Linked DNA regions of Homo sapiens: region 1 is linked to region 2. Evidence: promoter capture Hi-C in 16 types of primary human blood cells and fetal thymus (Javierre and others, 2016). All regions are on one chromosome and are shown on one strand. The core of a region is centred on a gene start or on the middle of the fragment in contact, and the rest is flanking DNA. Distances in the headings are between cores, read along the strand shown. Region 1 overlaps PEDS1-UBE2V1 (PEDS1-UBE2V1 readthrough). Region 2 holds the start of SNAI1 (snail family transcriptional repressor 1).

Region 1 (5,991 bases), core at 800-3,299, 110 kb after region 2:
GGGTGCCTACCGATGGGTATGGGTTCCTTTTTGAGGTGATGAAAACGTTCTGAAATTAGTGACGGATGCACAACTCTGAATGTAAGACCACCGAACTGTATATTTAAAAGGGTGAATTCTATCCCAATAAAGCTGTTACCAAAAACAAATACATGGAGGACTCCTGGCATACCGTAGCTACGCATTACAACTTCCAAAGCCTCTTTTGGAAAGAGATAAACTGAAATTCAGGGTAGCCCAAGCTGTTTTAGGCAGACAGAATATTTTCAGCAGAATTTACTGATGCATTGTTTTGTGTGTTTTTTTGAAAGTGTACAATTCAGTGGTATTTAGTGTATCGCAATGTTGTACATTGGTTCAATTCTCAGTATTTTAGAACCTGTAAATCAGTAAGTTGATTAACAAATCTACTGAGTACCCCATTCTGAGTCATTTCTAGGTATTCTGGGAAGTAAGGAGGGAAGCACAGTTCTCATCCTCAAGAAACCGAAATCATTCTTAGGAAGAGAAGACATGCAGTGAAGAAGATGTCAGCATATGATGGACCTTCAGAGACAGCAAAGAAAATTATCTCCATGGAGAAACAGGATTTCTAGATTGGGTTTTCCCCGGTATTTAGCAGACGCAGAAAATTCTGGTTTTCACAGGAAAAAAAGGATAAAGAAATGAGTAAAAACAGATCAAATGTATATATTTTTAAAACTCCACAAAACTATAGGGTCACAAAATGACTTAAGAAGCAACATTAAATGGCAAAGCCAATCATTCACCATGAGTGTTGATGACCATCTGAAATGAGCATTAGTGTCCTAACACTTAACGAACATGTCACTTGTCCCTGTTCCAGCCCGGGCCACGCCCTACATGTCTTTCTGCTCTCACAGTGCTAGTGCAGAGTCCTGCACACAATCAAAAGAATGAATGTTGTCATCATCCTTAAACACAAGCAGACACAGGACAGGTCTTGCTACATTCAGGCAGAGGCCCTTACTGCTTGTCTGAAGTGTGTGTCACAGTATGGAAATCAATTTCTTGACTCCTACATCAAGTTACTACTTGATTAGTATCTTCTATAATGGTAACAGATGAAAACTCAAAATGTAAACAAAAGGGAGACACCACAGCACAGTGGTTAAGAGCACAGGCTCTGGAGTCAGATCTGGTTTGGGGGTTACCAGCTATGTGACTTTGGGCAAGAGATCTGACTCCTCTGAGTCTGTCTCCTCATCTGTGAAATGGAATGCAATTGCACCTAACAATGGGGTCTTGTGAGAGTTAAGAGACATTTCTTGAGGGTTTACTATGTGTCCTCAAAAAACGGTTGGCTGGCATTATGAAGACTGGGAACTCTCACAAATCAGGAAGGTCTGAAAGAGGCCACTTTTCCCCATCCTCATTGTCTTCGTCTTCTTTGCAAAGGCCTCTGGGTCTAGTAGTGCCTGGAATAGACCAGGAGCTGACAGGCTTGCCAGGGACCTTTGCTGAATGGCCCAAGGAACTAGGATACAGGTGCACGGCAGACCTGGGAGACAGTGAAGAAAAACCACAACTGGGAAGGCTTTCCAGAGTTAATTTGGAGACTGGCTTCAGGAATGCTGGCTATACCTAGGGCCTAGTTATTTGGTTAGCCCAGAGATTGTTCTGAACGACATCTGATGGTGCAATGACTTCACACCTCACTGTCTACATTGTCATATAAATTCACACTATGAGTCTAAACAGGTTTTTGCTTACCATTTAGAGGGGTTAAACAGCATCAGAGGAGGTTCAAATATATAAACTGAAACTGGTCAAAAAAGAATAGCCACATTTCAGAAAATATACCATTGGTGAGCTTTTTTTCCGTGATAAGGCTAATATTTTTTAAAAGGAGGCACAGTGAATTTAAGACATTGACATTTATAGCCGTAGCTCGACGCTTACTCTTGGAGGCCCAATTATCATCCCTGTCCATCTTGTAAGTGTCATGTCTTCGTCATCTTCTAGACCCCAGCTAACTGTGCCATCTCCTACTCCTTTCTGGCCTTCTTCGAGTTCTTCCAACAGTCGGAAATTGCGAGGGACTTTTACTCCTAAAATAAATGGAAAGAAATTCAAGATACCAGCAACTCCAGGGGAACTTGTAAGCCTAGAGCTAGCTGCTCATTATCTCTCCCTGGGAATCAAGATGCTAACATGCAAAAAAATCACGGAAAGTTATCACACCTCAAACTTGCTACTTATAAAGCTATCAGTATCAACCAGCACAACCAGAGGGAAGGGGCACATGGTTCTCTGACAGGTGAAGTGACTAGGGCTAGATAACCAAACTTAGAAAGATACCCCACCCCTACCCCTTGGACAAACCTCCTAAGGGGCTTACATGTCTAAATGTCTATGAATTGGGGTCAACTAGTATGAGATGAAAACCATCAATATCAGGTGCTAACAAAAGTACCTTGGAAGACAAGAGGCTAAGACTACGCTTATTTGTTGGCATGACTCTCAAACAACCTTTAGGAGGAATAGTCACCATGGATATGGGAAATAAAAATGGTATCCTCTTAATCAACTAAGAGTCAACTGAAGGCACCAAGGATAAAATATTCTATTGTTTTTCAATTATTTAAGTGATAGTTTCTCTTTTAACTTACAAAAAAGCTAAAAGGGAATAGCTGGTTCTCAATTGTTTTCCAAAAATCCCAAAGCCTGGCAAGTAGCTCTTGAAAGCAACGCATGAAAACACCTCACAGGTTCAAGCCACAGTACCGGGTTCAGGCTGAGGCTTGAGCCATTTCTAGGTGTCTTCCAGAACAGAACCTAGGTACTGGGGCCAGACAAGGGAGGGGGCTATGGGAGGAGAGAGAGATGGACTTTCCTTCTGTGCTTGGGGAACAAATCATCTCTCCTAGGGTTGCACTCCCAACCAATCCTGACTGTCTCTCCTTCCTCCATTTTCCCTGGCATATGCACTATTTTCTCTGGAAAAAACTCAGGATCCAGTCAAGTTTCAAGTTCTCTGCCTTGAATGCTGAGCTCTCAATTGGCCAGACTCTCAGAGACAAACAGGACTAACCATGTGACTGTGAAGAGAGGCTCACTGGAGGGACCCCAGATTGTGGGAGGTGTTGCCAGTATATGTATTTCCCAAAGTGTAGGACACACGCCATTAATTCAATTGGAATAAATATTTGAGTACTTAGTATACATCGGGGACTTTTCTAAGCACTGAAGAACAAGCAGTGAATAAAACAAAAATGCCTGCAGCTTACATTCTAGTAGAAGACATATAATGGACAAAAATGAATATGTAAATTATACAGTATGACAGATCCTGGTGTTCCGGAGGAGGGAGTAATACGGGAGGGGCTATACTTTTAAATGGAGGGATAAAGGAAAAGTGTTATTGCAATCAGGTGTCATAACTAAAGACCTAAAGAAGGTGAGAGGGCATGATTTATGGATAGCTGAGGAGAAAGTCTTTGAGACAGAGCAAACAAGTGCAAAGGCCCTAAAATAGAGGCTGCTTAGGGTGTCAAAGGACAGCAAGGAGGCCAATTTAGCTCAAACCAAGTGAGGAAGATGAGAGAGCAAGAGGAGATTAAGGATGCCAACTGTTACTGAGTGACATGATCTGTCTTGTTTTTAATAGGATCCCTCAGACTGCTGTGTGAGGATGAGAGTGAAGGGAGCAAGGGCAGAAGCAGCTAGGAGGCTACTGCAATAATCCTAGCAAAAGATAATACCCGTTTGGACCAGGGTGATAGCAGGAAAGTAGTGAGGAGTGGCGTAATTCTAGGCATTTCAGAGGTCTGAGCTGTGGAGATTTGCTATCAGGTTGCCTGTGAGGTGTGAGAGACAAGAGTCAACTACAGCTCCCAGGTTTTTGGTCCAAGCAACTGAAGGACAGAGTTGGTAGTGGTATGTTAGAGGACTTTCGGTGGTATGTGATTGAACACTTCGTTTTACAGTCACGTATTTATGTTTAAGAATAACTTATTTAGGGTAAGTAATATACTAACTTCCCATTTATAATAATGGTAAAAGTTTCCTTTAAAATAAATGTAAGCAAAAGAGTCAGTTGATTACAAGAAAAATATTAAATAGTACTACATATGGTATTTGAAAGGAAACAGCAAAACCTGCAAGCATACTTGAACTGCTTGTTTGGAAAACACTGGCATTTTCATCTGCACAGCAGCCAACTGGATTATTCAGCTATACTGGATTAAGTCTCCTGTAGCAAACATAAAACTGAAAGATAGTGGTGACATTATAGGCAAAAAGCCAGACAACACAACTATTGTTCAGAAAGGGTTCAATCTAAATCTTTAATAATCCTAATTAGGCTAGCGGGGGAAAAGTCACTACATTACTACTGGTTAATTTACAAGCCTGCACTAATAAAAATGAACATCAAAAGAATCATATTGATAGGAAGGCTGATGACTGAGGTACTTGTTCACAGATCGTGCTATGGGCTGGGCTGAACTGTGTTCCCCTCAAATTTATATACTTAAGTCCTAACTCCCAGTACCTCAGAATGTGACAAAACCTGCTGACACCTTGATCTTGGGCTTCTGGTCTCTAGAGCTGTGAGAAATTTGTTGTTTAAGCCCCACCCAGTCTATGGTATTTTGTTATGACAGCACTAGCAAACTCATATAGATGATAAGTGACATCTTAAGGAGCTTTATAGAGTTGGTAAGGATACAGAACAAGATGTTAACAGCTGTTATCTCTGGGTAAAAGAATTATGGATGATTCCCCCTACTTTCTCTATTTCCTGATTTTTTTACAACAATCCCATGTTATTTGCATAACAAAAAACCAATTAGGAACCATTTCAACTGCACCCCCACGCAAGGACCTACCCAGGGCCTGTGCGACTGTCATTCCTGCTGTCCAGAAGGCTCCTTCCCCTAGGAATCCATAAGCCAAGCTCCCTCAGCTTCTTTAGGGCTTTGGTTGTCCAGCACTTCATCTCAATAAGGATCAAGGGTTCTTCTCTGAGTAGGAATCTCACTTAACGGCATTCCTTAAGTGACTAACTTTTAATGGACAATGATTTTAATGTTACTAAAACTTGGTCAGCTGGGTATGGCAGCTCACACCTGTAATCCCAGCACTTTGAGAGGCCAAGACAATCGTCTGAGGCCAGGAGTTCGAGATCAGCCTGGGCAACATGGAGAAATCTCATGTCTACAAAAAAATACAAGAATTAGCTGGGCATGGTGGTGCCCACCTGTAGTCCTAGTTACTCAGGAGGCTGAGAGGGGAGGGTCACTTGAGCCAGGAAGGCGGAGGTTGCAGTGAGGCGAGACTGCACCACTGCACTCCAGCCTGGGCGACAGAGTGAGACCCTGTCTCAAAAACCAAAAATAAACAAAAAATAATAAATAAATTAGCTGGGTGTGGTGGTGCACACCTGTAGTCCCAGCTGCTTAGGAGGCTGAGACAGGAGGACTGCTTGAGCCTGGAAGGTCAAGTCTGTAGTGAGCTATGATCACGCCACTGCATTCCAGCCTGGGCAACAGAGCAAGAACCTGTCTCTATTTAAAAAAAAAAAAAAAAAAAAGACGGGGCGCGGTGGCTCACACCTGTAATTCCAGCACTTTGGGAGGCCGAGGTGGGTGGATCATGAGGTCAAGAGTTCAAGATCAGCCTGGCTAGTATGATGAAACTCCGTCTCTACTAAAAATACAAAATTAGCCGGGCGTGGTGGTGTGCACCTGTAGTCCCAGCTACTCGGGAGGCTGAGGCAGAAAAATTGCTTGAACCCTGGAGGCAGAGGTTGCAGTGAGCTGAGGTTGCACCACTGCACTCCAGCCTGAGTGACAGAGCAAGACTCCATCTCCAAAAAAAAAAAAGTGTTAAGACTGTCAAATAAATGGCAAAGTATAACAGCTTCTACAGTTAAGCCCTTCATTACTGAATGGAAGCTGTATTACACAAGTGACCTCTATTTTGAGTTGCTCTTTTTGGCAAGACAAAAAAATGTGTTAGTTTCTT
Region 2 (5,494 bases), core at 1,136-3,635:
CGAGGGTACAATGAATATCCTTTTTTGTTTTTTCGGGGTTTGGGCTGGACAACAGTTCTTTACTTTGCTTGGTTGCTCATTATAATCCCCAGGGGAGTTTTTTAAAATGCTGATGCCAGAGGCCCCACCCAGACTAATTAAATCAAGATGTGGGTGGGGGTGGGGTGGGCCGAGGCTTAGGTGTTTTAATCCTTCCCTGTGGGGATCTAATGTGCTGCCAGAGCTGAGAACCCCTGGGATGCAGTTGGTTTGAGGACAGACTTGTCAGCTGCAGCCCCTGGGATGCAGTTGGCTTGAGGACAGACAGGGAGAGGAGTCACCTGTTGCTAGCTGATGCCAAACTTTTCCAAAGTGACTATGCCCACCGACCCTCTCGCCAGCTCTCACCTCCTCATCAACTCTTGATAGTGACCAAATTTTTCCTTGTTGTCCTTCTGATGGGCGTGAAATGGCAGCTCACTGTGGCTTGAATTTGCCATTTCTCTCTTCACTAAACGAGGCTGAGCAGTTAGTGAAGTTGCTGCTGAAACAAAGAATGAAAGGAAGCCAGCGTGAAGATCTAGGAGCAAGAGACGTAGGGGAGAGGAGGAAGAGCAGCAGGTGCCAAGGTGGGAAAGGTCTGGGATGTTGGAGGAACAGAAGGAAGGCTGGGGGTGGGATCCTTGTGCATGGGGGAGGGAGAGAGGCTCAAGCCAATGTCAGCTGGGGTCAGAGCAGCGGGGCCGAGTTGGCTGAGGAGAGGACTTTGGCTTTTACTCTGAGACAGGCGCATGGGAGGGTTTGAGCAGAGGAGGGGGTGATCTGGCCTCACTTTGGCTTCAAGCAAAGGATCCTGATTGGAGCTAAATTGACACGGGACGGGGAGTATTCCGCTTAATGACTGCTTACTGCCTCTGTCCCCCACCCTACTGCCCGCTCTCCAGCTAGAACCAGGGGAGGACGATTTTGTTCACGGCTGTCACACCCGGCACCAAGTGACTAAACAGACAGTAGTTCTGCCCTTCAGGTTGGTGGTGGTGGTGGTGTGGGGTGCTTATAGGTTTTTATAGTCTTCCTTCACAGGTGGAAACAAGAACGGTGAGACCTGTGAGGTTTATTTCAGAGCCACCCCCGGGCCTGGTACGCCTCCCAGGGAAGCTGGGGTGGGGGTGCAGCTGCCCCTCACTTGGGCCCACCCCACATGCATTCAGTCAGGGCCCCTATGGAGCCGTGTTACAGCCTTTAGACACAGGATCGAGGATCTTCACGGGGTGAGGAGACACGCCCGGCCCATGCCTTCTTTCTCCCGCCAGCCTACAGGGATCTTTTTCAACGAAACTCTAACCAGGTCCCTCCTCAGCTGAAAATCCTTCGGTGGCTCCCCAGTGCCCTTGAGGCAAAGTCCAAACTCCTACGAGGCCCTGGGGCCCAGCACATCTGACCCCTCCGGGCATGCCCATCCCACCCCATCCCTGGAAGCTGCTCTCTAGGAGTTACTCTGAAGCAGTTGCCACTTCTTCCCTCGGGCCTTTTCCCTTGATAATTCTTCACTTCCTCTGGGAAGTCACCCCGACCCCCTGTCAGGTGACCCGCCTCTTAACGGTCGCCGCGTCCCGTCTCTCCCCCACCAAAGCACACTTCCCTTTGCATTGTAATTATCTGTTTACTTCGTCTGTCTCCCTCACTGGACCAGAAGCTACCCTTCGGGAGAGGCTCTGAGTGTTCTGTCCGGGGCTGTGCCCTGGCCCCAGGTACAGTGCCCCACACGTGCTGGGCGCTCCGTAAACACTGGATAAGGGAAGGAACGGGTGCTCTTGGCTAGCTGGGCCAGGCTGCTTTGCAAAAAGGCCGTGGCATTTCAAGCCGCCGAGAGCCACGTGCGGTGTCCCTTTCCTCGCTTCCTCCCCAGTGATGTGCGTTTCCCTCGTCAATGCCACGCTCTCCAGGCGCCAGCCGGGCGGAGGAAATTTCCGCCCCCTCCCAAGCCCGAGGCGGGGGCGGGCGTCGGAAGGTCAGGTGTCCCGGCCGGCGCGCAGCGCCAGGGGGCGTCAGAAGCGCTCAGACCACCGGGCGCTGAGCCGGTGGGCGCGCGGCGTCCTGCCGGGGTCCCACCTCGCAGAGGCCTCGCTTCGCTCGACGTCCCGCCCCGGACAGCCCCAGCACCGGGGACGACCCGCGCTGCGCCAGCGAACCCCGCCTCGGAGGAGTCCCCGCCCGGGCTCTCACCGCCACGCGGCGCGAGCCCGGCCAGCAGCCGGCGCACCTGCTCGGGGAGTGGCCTTCGGCGGAGACGAGCCTCCGATTGGCGCGGAGGTGACAAAGGGGCGTGGCAGATAAGGCCCCGCCCCTCCCACCCCCCACCACCCCCCCGGAGTACTTAAGGGAGTTGGCGGCGCTGCTGCATTCATTGCGCCGCGGCACGGCCTAGCGAGTGGTTCTTCTGCGCTACTGCTGCGCGAATCGGCGACCCCAGTGCCTCGACCACTATGCCGCGCTCTTTCCTCGTCAGGAAGCCCTCCGACCCCAATCGGAAGCCTAACTACAGCGAGCTGCAGGACTCTAATCCAGGTGCGTTGGAGGGGTTCTGGGCTCCAGGAGGTTTGGGGGAGACAGGCGAAGGCTGCGTGGGGGGCACCTGAGGGAGGCGGCCTGCCTGAGCCAGGATCGAGTCACAGGATGTTTTGTGGACCATTGCGGGCTCGGGAGACCGGGCAAGTGGGTCCCCAGTTCCGGGGATCTGTCTGGGTGGTTGGGGGAGTGCCGTGTAGAGGGCAGGGGTCTTCAGCTTGGGGGGCCTTTGTAGCCGGCGAGAGGCGGAGGAGCTCCGCAAGAGGGGAAGGAGAGGAGGCCTGTGTCAGGAGGGCCCTCTGGACGCTGCTGGGGAGAGTCCGGAGTCCAGAGGGTTGAGGGGAGGGGTGGGGAGACGAGATGTGTGTGAGGAGGGGGATTGGGGCAGGGTGGTGGCTCCGGGGCTGGGATGATGGGGTTCTGGCCTCAGGCTGGAGACTGGGGACTTAGGAGAGGGAGATCAGGAAATGACCTCCTTCAACTGGGGGTCCTACGTGTGAGAGACTCAGATTGGGTGACCTGGGCGAGGAGGGCAGGAACCTGGTCTGTCCTGTGGATAATTTTTTTGATCTAATTATGTATTGAGAATCGGCCCCACCCAGCCCCTGGCCAGCGGTGGGCTCATGTTTGTTGATTGAGTGAATGATTTAATTAACGCCTGACTCTGCTTTTTCTCCCTCAGAGTTTACCTTCCAGCAGCCCTACGACCAGGCCCACCTGCTGGCAGCCATCCCACCTCCGGAGATCCTCAACCCCACCGCCTCGCTGCCAATGCTCATCTGGGACTCTGTCCTGGCGCCCCAAGCCCAGCCAATTGCCTGGGCCTCCCTTCGGCTCCAGGAGAGTCCCAGGGTGGCAGAGCTGACCTCCCTGTCAGATGAGGACAGTGGGAAAGGCTCCCAGCCCCCCAGCCCACCCTCACCGGCTCCTTCGTCCTTCTCCTCTACTTCAGTCTCTTCCTTGGAGGCCGAGGCCTATGCTGCCTTCCCAGGCTTGGGCCAAGTGCCCAAGCAGCTGGCCCAGCTCTCTGAGGCCAAGGATCTCCAGGCTCGAAAGGCCTTCAACTGCAAATACTGCAACAAGGAATACCTCAGCCTGGGTGCCCTCAAGATGCACATCCGAAGCCACACGCTGCCCTGCGTCTGCGGAACCTGCGGGAAGGCCTTCTCTAGGCCCTGGCTGCTACAAGGCCATGTCCGGACCCACACTGGTACGTGCCCCTCCAGGCGCCCCCACCGTTGCTCTCTCTGGCAGCTTTTGTGAATCTGGGCTTGCTGTTCTCATTCCCAAAGCTGTGGACACTGAGGCCCCGAGTCTTCTAACTTCTAGCTCAAGTTCCAGGGCCTGGCTCTCTGGAAACGTTTGGCAGAAACTTTCTTCATCAGCTAAGCAGATGGGCAAAGCAGACACCTTCCCAATCCCCTGCAGCCTGTTTCTCAGCCAAATGGGTCGGAGCTGGATATGGGAAAGGTGCAACCAACACCTTGCTGTGGGGGCCAGGTGTGAAGGGGCCCACCCGGCCACACCCTCTCCCGGGTCCGCCCCCTCCCTAGCCAGACAGGATGTTGTCAGACCCCCCGCCTGGCTCTGAATCCTTCTTTGAGAACTTTCTCAAAACTTAGGCTGATGTTTCTCTTCTGTGAGCCTCATTTTCTCTATCTTTCAGATGGGCATGAGAACAGCTTTTGGGGTTTCTATACAGGCTAAATGCAGGAATGCATATGGGAAGCACCTGGCAAAGTGCCGGTACCTGCTAAACTCTCACAAAAATGGTTCCTTGGCATTTGCTCTGCTTCCTTGCTGTGTGACTTTGGGCAAGCAACTTAACCTCTCTGAGCCTTAGGGGAAAACTATGATAGCATATGTTTTAGAGAGTGGCTGTAAAGGTGGCTAATCACTTTATAGTAATTTATTATACCCGAACGGTTCTCAGGTCGGCTTCCCCACCCCCACTGAATCCTAGCACACAGACCAGGAAACGGCATCTTTGGGGCAGAAAACACAATCACGTCTTTTGAAAATTTACTAAATGTGTAAAAAACTTTCTGGACATGGAGAAAAGGTAGAACTTTTTAGAACTTGAATGGTGGCAGCCACTGTGCCTGGAGCTGCTCTTTGGAGAGTGACAGTTGAGGGAGAAGATTCCACAGGGTTCAAGCTGGCCAGGTTCTGCCATTTCCTGGCCTGGCGCCTGACCTCTGAGCGGTGAGGGTTAGTGAGGTGTCTGGGAGGACTGGCAATTCGCGGGCTTTATTGGCATCTTATTCGACTAAGGCTACCCATTTCTCTTCCTTCGTGCACCAATTGCTCTGATTTTAACATGTAAAGGTCCAACTGCCTGGCCTCCTGGGTGCCTGCCCAGCTCACAGGGCTCTATTTTGGGACAGTTGAACCCCTCAGGGTGCTGCAGTCCTGCCTGCCTCTCTCACCTCCCATCTGGACATTATTTTAATGTAAAGGCATGGCTGAGACACAGAAATCCCCTTGAAATGTATCATTGCGGTCCTCATTGACTCCCATTGTGTGCCTTAATGGTGGGCCCAGTGGGTGGGGGCTGGGAGGGGTGGAGCAGGTGCATGGGGCAGCGGTGCCCAGCACCTGTTCCAGTCACAGCTGCTGGCCCACTGCATGGCAGGCCCCTTTAATCCGGGGATATCGCATGTACAGTGCCCCCCTCGGCGCCCTTTGTCCCCGCCGGCCTGGTGCCGATTTCACACTTGCCAGGAGTACCATGAAGGCGTCTGGGGGGCGAGGGATCCAAGGAGTGGGGGTCTGTGCCTCCTGCGTGTGCACACAGCCCCCGCCCCCAGCCCATCATGTCCTAGAATGTCTCCTTCCCCTTTTGTTTGGGTTCAGGTCTCATCACACTTTGGGCACTTACTGTACAGGAGGGTAGTGCTCAGGACTTCACCAACAGCCCTGGGAAGGGAAGGGAGGTGCTGTCCTA

The links. The method cuts DNA at HindIII sites, captures the fragments that hold promoters and counts their contacts. A CHiCAGO score of 5 or more calls a contact.
Region 1: a fragment that was not itself captured here is called in contact with the fragment with the promoter of SNAI1 in region 2 in 2 of 17 cell types (monocytes and naive B cells); the score reaches 7.5 in monocytes.

The regions. Positions count from the first base shown.
Region 1 is chr20:50,094,749-50,100,739 of GRCh38, forward strand. It overlaps PEDS1-UBE2V1 (PEDS1-UBE2V1 readthrough), which reads right to left. Exons shown (of 8, transcript NM_199203.3): 6 at 1,924-2,072. UBE2V1 (ubiquitin conjugating enzyme E2 V1) reads right to left here. Exons shown (of 4, transcript NM_001032288.3): 2 at 1,924-2,072. Among named protein-coding and RNA genes, the nearest start is that of UBE2V1, 15 kb to the right of the region's middle. RefSeq lists an enhancer at 4,514-5,177. The HindIII fragment of the contact is 8,180 bases long and covers 1-5,991 here.
Region 2 is chr20:49,980,595-49,986,088 of GRCh38, forward strand. It overlaps SNAI1 (snail family transcriptional repressor 1), which reads left to right and starts at 2,386. Exons shown (of 3, transcript NM_005985.4): 1 at 2,386-2,547; 2 at 3,230-3,757. The coding sequence starts at 2,466. RefSeq lists an enhancer at 791-1,728 and a silencer at 1,881-2,400. The HindIII fragment of the contact is 8,892 bases long and covers 1-5,494 here.